3 separate regions of the Homo sapiens genome follow, and all the other regions are linked to region 1. The links are contacts of gene promoters, found by promoter capture Hi-C in human tissues and cell types (Jung and others, 2019). All regions are on one chromosome and are shown on one strand. Each heading gives the region's core, a stretch centred on a gene start or on the middle of the fragment in contact. The rest is flanking DNA. Distances are from core to core; before and after follow the strand shown. Region 1 holds the start of HSF2BP (heat shock transcription factor 2 binding protein). Region 2 has its middle 36 kb from the start of CBS. Region 3 overlaps LOC124905023 (a long non-coding RNA gene).

Evidence for each region. Contacts are between HindIII fragments. The study calls those that stand out against the background at their distance.
Region 2: a fragment that was not itself captured here is called in contact with the fragment with the promoter of HSF2BP in region 1 in 4 of the 25 tissues and cell types used here (H1 embryonic stem cells, IMR-90 fibroblasts, dorsolateral prefrontal cortex and 1 more).
Region 3: a fragment that was not itself captured here is called in contact with the fragment with the promoter of HSF2BP in region 1 in 1 of the 25 tissues and cell types used here (IMR-90 fibroblasts).

The regions. Positions count from the first base shown.
Region 1 is chr21:43,658,141-43,660,919 of GRCh38, reverse strand. It overlaps HSF2BP (heat shock transcription factor 2 binding protein), which reads left to right and starts at 1,432. Exons shown (of 9, transcript NM_007031.2): 1 at 1,432-1,534; 2 at 2,600-2,779. It overlaps RRP1B (ribosomal RNA processing 1B), which reads right to left and starts at 1,360. Exons shown (of 16, transcript NM_015056.3): 1 at 1,126-1,360. The coding sequence starts at 1,255. RefSeq lists an enhancer at 368-417 and a silencer at 1,138-1,327. The HindIII fragment of the contact is 9,655 bases long and covers 1-2,779 here.
Region 2 is chr21:43,038,246-43,041,197 of GRCh38, reverse strand. No RefSeq gene overlaps it. Among named protein-coding and RNA genes, the nearest start is that of CBS, 36 kb to the left of the region's middle. The HindIII fragment of the contact is 8,976 bases long and covers 1-2,952 here.
Region 3 is chr21:42,945,280-42,948,326 of GRCh38, reverse strand. It overlaps LOC124905023 (a long non-coding RNA gene), which reads left to right. Exons shown (of 2, transcript XR_007067882.1): 2 at 1-3,047. Among named protein-coding and RNA genes, the nearest start is that of MIR5692B, 4.2 kb to the left of the region's middle. The HindIII fragment of the contact is 8,157 bases long and covers 1-3,047 here.

The sequences.
Region 1 (2,779 bases), core at 183-2,682:
TCACTCAAGAGTTTATAGAAAGTATTTTTGGATCAGGTAAATGAAATCATCCAACAGCAGTGCCGTTAAAATCTAAACTACAAAGCCCTGTGTGATCTGGCCACTGCCTACATCTCCAACTTCATCTCATAACACTCGCCCCCCCAACCCCAACTTATTGGTCTTTCAAACCACTCCTAGGGCACGTGAAGCTCTTTCCTGCCTCTGCATAGGCGGTTTCCGCTCATTTCTCTTCAGATCTGAGCTGATTATCAGCCCAGAGAGGCCTTCCCAGAACAGCCTATCAAGAAGAGCAACCTCCTTCCCTTTTTGCTATTATCTGGTTTTCTTTTTCCTTTTTTCTTTTCTTTTCTTTTTGAGACGGAGTTTCGCTCTTGTTGCCCAGGCCGGAGTGCAATGCTGCGATCTCGGCTCACCGCAACCTCCGCCTCCCAGGTTCAAGCGATTCTCCTGCCTCAGCCTCCCGAGTACTGAGATTACAGGCATGCGCCACCATGCCCGGCTAATTCTGTATTTTTAGTAGAGCCGGGGTTTCACCATGTTGGTCCGGCTGGTCTCGAACTCCCGACCTCAGGTGATCCGCCCGCCTCGGCTTCCCAGAGTGCTGGGATTACATGCGTGAGACACCGCGCCCGGCCTGCTACCTGGTTTTCATTTCCTTTACTACACTTACACAAGGTCTACTTTATTTGCCTGTTTGCCTCCTTGCTTTATTACTAATAGATCCTCGAGGGTAGTGATTTTGTCTGTCTTCTCTCCTGCAGCCCCGTCACGTAAAGGTGCTGGTCAAAGGAAGGCGGCAATCACCGACCGGACACCAGGGCAAATCAGGGCAGCCCAGTGATTCGAGATGCCGGCTGGGGAATCGGACCCATGTGGGTCTTTTCTCAGCTTCCCCGCTTACTGTGACTTTCATAAGTAACGGAACCCCCTCAACCCGTTTCCTTAAGTGTAAAAAGGCACTAGACACAGCAAGAAGCGGTTCCGGCAGCGCGGAAACCGAAGCACACGCTGGGTGTCACGACAACACGTGGAAGCCGCATTCCGTGCCGGGGCCCTGGCCCTAGCCCCAGCCCCGGCCCCCGGCCCGCCATGTGGCGCGGCTGACCGCGGCCGTGCGCCCACCTGTCTCCCTCTGCGTCTTCACGCTGATGTACTGGCGCAGCTTCTTCACCGCTCGGTCCCGGATGCCCTTCTCGCTGGACGCCAGCCGCTGGGCAAATTGGATCTCGGCCGGCTGCATGGCGGGGGCCATCGCGCCCGCTGGAGCATCCCCGGCCGCGCAACCCGCGGTGCCGCTGCAGCCAGCCGAGCGCTGCGGAGCAGCCAGCCACCGTCCGCCCGGGCCGCGACTGCACAGAAGGCGGCGGCGGCGGCGCGCGGGCTGATGGCGTCACAAAGGCGCCGCGGCTCGCAGCGCGCTCTGGGAGTGAGCGCGGCAGTGGCCCTGGCAGCTGGCGGAGCGGCCCAGCCCGTGTGCACGTGGCGCCGGCGCTGCCTTTCGGTTGCCAAAATTCAGGCTGTAGACGGCGAGGTTAGCCAGGGTTAGGACTTGACCAGGAAGAGACGGAAGGCTGTTTGTAAACGGTCTAGGATTTTTTGTTTGTTTTTGAGACAGGGTCTCCCTCTGTCGCCCAGGCTGGAATGCAGTGGCGCGATCTTGGCGGTGATCCTGGCTCACTGCAGCCTCGACCTCCCAGACTCGATCGATCCTCCCATCTCGACCGCCCAAGTAGCTGAGACTACAGGCGCGCGCCATCACGCCCCACTATTTGTTATTTTTTTGTAGAGACGGTGTCTCGCTATGTTGCCCAAGCTGGTCTCAAACTCCTGGGCTCAAGCAATCCTCCCGCGGCGGCCTCCCTGATCGCTGGGATTACAGGCTTGAGCCGCCGCGCCTGGCCACGGTCCAGGATCTTTAATCCCATTTAGCACACCTCGTTGAGCCAGCAGCTTACCTGCGATCTCCGTGGCGTGGAGTTTTTAACTGTGGAGCCCCCGGGCCCCCGGGTGGAGTTGAGACTGGAAGGAAAGGCCGGCACTGGGGCCTGTTGAGCGGGTGGAGGGCTCGCCTTCCTCCAGTGCCTGCAGAGGCTTGGGCAGATCGGTGCGCCCCTACCCCGGAGCCCTGGTGCCAGTGCAAGGGCGCCCGCGCAGGCGTCCCGAGGCCTGGCGAGCACGCGCGCTTCCAGGGGAGTTGGGCAGGGCGGGCTGCTTGCTAATTCCAGAGAGGGAAGAAATCTTAGCTTTGGGTTCATCTAAAACCCGAGGCCATCCTATATTTTGCGGACTCAGCGGGCGTGCTGGGGCAAGTTAATGGACTAGGTCACTCCACACGTAGCGGGGGTTATCTCAGTTGCTCCGCTCAGTTGTCTAGGCGACCTCCCGAGGTGCCTGTTGACACAAAAATTCAACCCTTAACGTAAAAGCGCCTGAATCCGAGCGAGGGAAGGCGCGCGGAGGCGAGGTTTCCAGCAAAGACTGCCCATTTGAACGCAGTCCCCCTTAGTGTAGCATTCCTCGCCAAACAGGAAAGGACCCATCCGATTTATTTTACTTGACACTTACATCAGGGGCTGACTTTCCTTCTGCTTTGCAGATAACAAGTTTAAAACCCCGGCTAAGCCAGAAGAGCCAAAGAGGGACCTCGCCAAGGCCACTCCTCGCTCTCTAGGCCGAGAATACTGCGCAAATTCTGGGAGGTTTGGGCCTGGCGGCTCTCCGTTCCCGACCCCCGGCGTGGATTCGTTCCCGCGCTTTCTGGCGTGAGGGGTCAGAG
Region 2 (2,952 bases), core at 232-2,731, 620 kb after region 1:
TGCAGCTCATTACAGGCCACCGTTTAAGTTATTTAAGTCCTAAAGACTGCATCTGAGGAACACTGGGTTTCTAATCCTTTCTTTGAGTACTTCATTGCAGAGCTAGTCTATTAGTGGCTTTACAATTCAGGATTTTTGTGGGTTTTTGTGAGATAAGGTCTGGTGCTGTTGCCCAGGCTGGAGTGCAGTGGCACGATCTTGGGTCACTGCAACCTCCACCTCCTGGGCTCGAGTGATCCTACCATCTCAGCCTCCCAAGTATCTGGGACTACAGGCATGCACCACCATGCCAGCTAATTTTTGTATTTTTGGTATAGATGGAGTTTTGCCATGTTGGCCAGGCTGGTCTTAAACTCCTGAGGTCAAGTGATCCACCTGCCTTGGCCTCCCAAAGTGTTGGGATTACAGGCTTAAGCCACTATGCCCGGCCACGATTCAGTCTTATTAAATCAACCAGGTGTCTGTGATGTGGCCCAAAGGTCAGGCTTTTCCTTTCCCGTGCTGAGAGCTGCCCTGTGTCTGGGCATCTTCCTCACCAGATAAGGAGTGGCTCGGGCGCCGCTGGGCCTTTTGCAACCTGCAGCACAGCCCTGGTGGTGGTGGTGGGCCCGGAGTAGGCAGCGAGCCTGCTACTCACCCACCAGGATAGGCACTGGACAGGCCCTGTGGAGTGGCAGGCACCCCTGTCCAGTGTTCAGCCTCTTCCTCTGCAGGGGCTGTCCCTGCCTGTCAGACAGTGAGTCCAGGGATGCCCTGGACCACCACATCCTCGACAGCCCTCAGCTCAAGGGCATATCCGCTGGCTTCTCCCGCCAGGAAGGACAGTGAGGCCTTGGTGGGGCTCAGATGGAGGCTAGCATTCTTTTTAACTAATGAGCGCTTAATTGAAGCAAGTACTGGCACCGAAATAACATTTAAAAAGTGTTCTCTTCGGTGGCTCACACCTGTAATCCCAGCACTTTGGGAGGCCTAGGCAGGCAGATCACCTGAGGTCAGGGGTTCAAGACCAGCCTGGCCAATATGGTGAAACCCCCCGTCTCTACTAAAAATATAAAACTTAGCTGGGTGTGGTGGCACACGCCTGTAATCCCAGATACTTGGGAGGCTGAGGCAGGAGAACTGCCTGAACCCAGGAGGCGGAGGTTGCAGTGAGCCGAGATTGTGCCACTGTACTTCAGCCTGGGTGACAGAGCAAGACTCTGTTAAAAAAAAAAAAAGAGTTAGCTTAACATATTTGATTAAAGCATCATTTTAGAAATGTGAACCGTGTGCTCGCTCAGTGTCTCCTTAGGCTGCAGCTAGCAAGGTTGTGCAGGTGACTCAGGACAGCTCCATCAAAGCTTTGGGAAGCTGTCGGAGGGAAGTCTGAACTGAGAGAGAACGACTCAAAGACGCCTCAGAGAGCCTGAGTGGGCAGCTCCTGCCCGCAACCCCACACCTGGGGCACAGCCCTCTCTGTTGGCTCACACCAAGGTGGCGTTGGCGTCGCGTGAAGAGGCCCGGGGCAGCCCACTCCCTTCCAAGCTCCCCCTAAACTTTGCTTCTTTATGGGTCTAACACCCCCCGCTCAGTGACTGGATCCAGAGACGGCATCGCCGGCGGGCAGCGTGGGTCCATGGCAGGCCCCAGGAAGGCTGGTGCAGGGCTGACATGGTCCAGCACATGCCCAGCACACGACGGGCATGGCCCATGCCAAGGTCCAATGTGACATGACAGAGAACCGGCCACAGAGTCCCGCCTCAGGCACTAAGCCTGTTTAACGACAACCCCCAGAAAAATGGCTTCAGACAGTGGCAACATTTATTTTGCTCACACATCTGTATCTGGAGCGGGGCTCACAGGGGCGGCTGGGCTCTGCTCTGCTCTGCTCATCAGCTGGGGTGGCTCGAGGCACCTGTAGGCTCACTTGTGTGTAGCTGGTGGTCAACGCGGCTGGCAGACAGCACACCTGCATGGCCTATCCCCGCGGCCTGGGCTTCCTTCCAACATGGCACCCGGGCCAAGCCTGAGCCCCCTCAACCCGTCAGTCACATGGCAATTGCCACCCCAGCAGGCCACATAAACCTCCCCAGGGTCAAGAGAGGGGGATCCCCTGGATAGGCAAAATTCCAGAGGGGGACAGGGGACTGGAGATGTCATTCCTGCCATAAGACCCTGGACACTGCCCGAGAGAATCCTTCCATACAGAGAATCAGGAATCAGAACAGCTTTACGTTGCTCAAGGTAAAAGGCAGTGCCTTCAACTCTGAGTAAAAACCATTTCCAAACCCGACTGTTCCCCCTTCCTCATTCCCGTTTCTGTTGAACTCTCACACCATGCACAGAGCTCTGTGTGCACTCCGGAGCGCAGGGCAAAGGCCTCCCCGCCCACCCCGAGTTTGGCAGCTGCCAGAGGGCAGGAAAGGAGAAAACAGGGAATGGGGAACCTGCAGCCTCTTCCCTCCTTCTACCAGGTACAGAGCCACCGGGGAGAGGCAGGAAACATTTTCAACTCAAGGCCTGCCCTGGCTCAGACACTCTCCCGCCCAAGCCACTGTCCAGGTATAAGGCAGAGTTTGGCAGCAGGAGCAGGAGTGGGCACGAGCCCTGCACCCCAAGGGTATAGGACCCACCTGCGATGGAGGCTGGGCCAGGAGCACGCCAAGGAGCCGGAAGCAAGCAGCAGTAGCCCTCTGCCAGGGAGGGCAGGAGCAGACACCAGGCACAGCACAGCATCCAAGGCCTGCTGGCATCTAAGAAGGGGCAGGGCCACTCTGGCACCCACACCATGCACAGGCTGGCTATGGCCACTGCTGGAAGAATCGGAAGCCTGTGGTGCCTGCAGGGACGAAGGCAGCCCCAAGCCCACAGCCCGCTCACCTGGTGACCACACCCACCCAGGGCCTGTCTGAAGGGGAGTGCCTGTTTCTGGGCATGAGGACTATTTATCTTGGTCTCCACATTCTACAAAAA
Region 3 (3,047 bases), core at 249-2,748, 710 kb after region 1:
CCTAAGGGAAAAAAAAAAAAAAAGGAAAAAAAAGGGGGCGGGTGGAATTTATATAAAAAGAGTATTATATGGTAAATTCTTGTCCTGAAATAAATTAACTGGTTGTTTAAAGAAAGAAATATTTGTAATAAGTCAGAAAGTTGAGGCATGTGGAAGAATTGTCTGCAAAAGTCAAGAAAGAGAAAAATGTTATAAAAAAGAATTTATGCAAAAAATGTTGTATAATTTAAAAGTAACTAGGCCTCCTGAATGTAAAACTATTGAAAAAAAAAAAAAACAACAGTTTATGTGCAAGGTGTATAAGAAAAGTAAAATATATCTTTGGTAAAAGGATTATAAGGAGGCATAAGAATGTACATTTTTACCTACATTAAAAAGTTAAAAATTTATTGTTTTGAAGGTTTAAGCAAATTTTAAAACATTAATTGTAAAGGAAATTCTGTGTATAAACATATTTGCTAAAGTTAAAGAAGTATCATCCAGTTTTTCTGTGAACTAGACATTAAAGTAAAAGCATAACAGGTTTTTCTTAAAGCACCAACCTGCTCTTTAGCAAAAATTATGAAAGGTTAAAAAGAGTCTATAAAATCGTAACTTACGGTCAAACATTAAAAATTAGATAAATATGTCTACAGGCTTTTATTAAAATTAGGTTTAACATTAATAACACACTAATATAAACATAACATTTAGCTTATCTGGTATAAAAATCATACAAGAAGCATTGTTAAATGTAAAATGGTATTTGGCTTTCTTTGGTTTAAAAACTAATAAAAATAGGTGCTAAAGGAAATTTCTCAGTAAAAAGACACTAAGGACTATAAAGTCCACTGCCAAGGTCCCCACATTTAAAACAAAAGGTCAGTTTCTTAAAAATTATATACTTGGTTTATCTTCCACTTTCCTTTCTCTCAAAAACTAAAAGTCTTTTAGCACATGTACCACCGCTAGAATTTCCAGTAAATCAGCACCAGCCTGAAGATCACGTTCTCATCAAAGGGTGGAAAGAAGAAAAACTTGAGCCCGCCTGGGAAGGACCCTACCTTGTCCTGCTAACCACCAAGACTGCTGTTTTTACAGAAAAAAAAAAAGATGGACTCATCACACCCAAGTCAAGAAAGCGCCACCCCCTCCAGAGGTGGGGGCCATAGTCCCAGGGGAAAACCCTACCAAACTAAAGCTAAGAAAAATGTAACTCTTTTCATCTACTCTATTACTCTTTCTTCTTTCCTCATTCTATTGTTGACCATATAGTTATTAACATAATCAAATCAATTTCACCTCAAACTATTGCATTTAATTCTTGCCTTGTTATACCCTGTGGGGACTTGCCAATTCCAAGACAGCTTTCTACTTCAGAAAAGTATCTCTGCCCCTCCTGACTCTCCTCAGACTGGGCATTAGTAAACGAGGACCATTTAATCCGGGGAGATTTCAATAAACACCCCAGTGCCAACTAGGAGTCTTGCCCCCTGACGTAGAGCTTTCATGCCATAGTTGGTCCAACGTCCTGTGGACCACTAAAGAGCAAGGACGGACTGACCCAACCGGTTTTTATAATTTCCTAAAACCATACATTCATTTTACTAGAGGATCATAGAAGTTAAAGACTTAAAACAAACTTTATCAATTAAGACAGGATACCAAGATGCAAATGCCTAGTTAAAATGGATCAAATATTCCATTTGACATTAAATAAAACCAATTGTTATGCTTGTGCACATGGCAGGCCAGAGGCCCAGATTGTCCCCTTTCCACTAAGGTGGTCCTCCAGTTGACCAGGTGTGGGCTGCATGGTAGCTCTTTTCCAGGATTCTACGGCCTGGAGTAATAAGTCGTGCCAAGCTCTCTCTGCTATATCCCAAAGTCCAGCACCCTGTGGGTCAGCCCCTGAGGGCCATCCAACCTCCGTCTCCCAACACTAAGTTCACTTCGTGTCTCTCATGACAGGGAGGAAACTTCGTGTTCCTTGGAGACCTGAAAGGATGCAGTGAAGCATAAGAATTTTCAAGAGCTTATCAATGAGGCAGCCCTTGTTCATCCCTGAGCGGATGTGTGGTGGTATTGTGGTGGACCTTTACTGGGCACTCTGCCGAATAACTGGAGTGGCACTTGTACTTTAGTCCGGTTGGCTATCCCTTTCACCCTGGCATTTCATCAATAAGACATCATAAAGCGAGAGAAGCTCCTTAGGGGTCTTTCAACTCTCATGTCTATTTAGACGCAATTGGAGTCCCACGAGGAATACCAGATCAATTTAAAGCTTGAAATCAAATAGCTGCAGGATTTGAGTCAATATTTTGGTAGGTGACAGTTAATAAAAATGTAGATTGGATAAACTACATCTATTACAACCAACAGCAACGAGCTTTTCATGAGTTAAAAGAAAACTCACGTCAGCTCCAGCCCTGAGGCTACCTGACCTGACAAAACTCAACATTCTATGTGTCAGAAAGAGAAAAAATGGCAGTTGGAGTTTTAACCCAGACTGTGGGGCCCTGGTCAAGGCTAGTGGTCTATTTCTCAAAACAACTAGACAGGGTTTCCAAAGGCTGGCCCCACGTCTAAGGGCCCTGGCAGCAACAGCCCTGTTAGCACAAGAAGCAGATAAACTAACCCTTAAGCAAAATCTGAATATAAAGACCCCCCATGCTGTGGTAACCTTAATAAATACCAAAGGATATCATTGGTTAACAAATGATAGATTAACCAAGTACCAAATCATGCTATTTGAAAATCCCCACATAACCATTGAAGTTTGCAACACCCTAAACCCCACCACATTTCTCCCGGTATCAGAGAGCCCAGTTGAACATAACTGTGTAAAGGTGTTGGACTCAGTTTATTCTAGCAGGCCTAACCTCTGAGACCATCCTTGAACATCAGTAGACTGTGAGCAGTACGTGGAGGGGAGCAGCTTTGCCAACCCCTGCAAAGTGACTCTGAAGAAGACGACAAGCCCTACTCCAGTCACACCTGGAAGCTGACTGGTCCACACACAGCCGAAGCATGAGAAAACCCATTGCGGGACTCATTTTTCTTAAAAT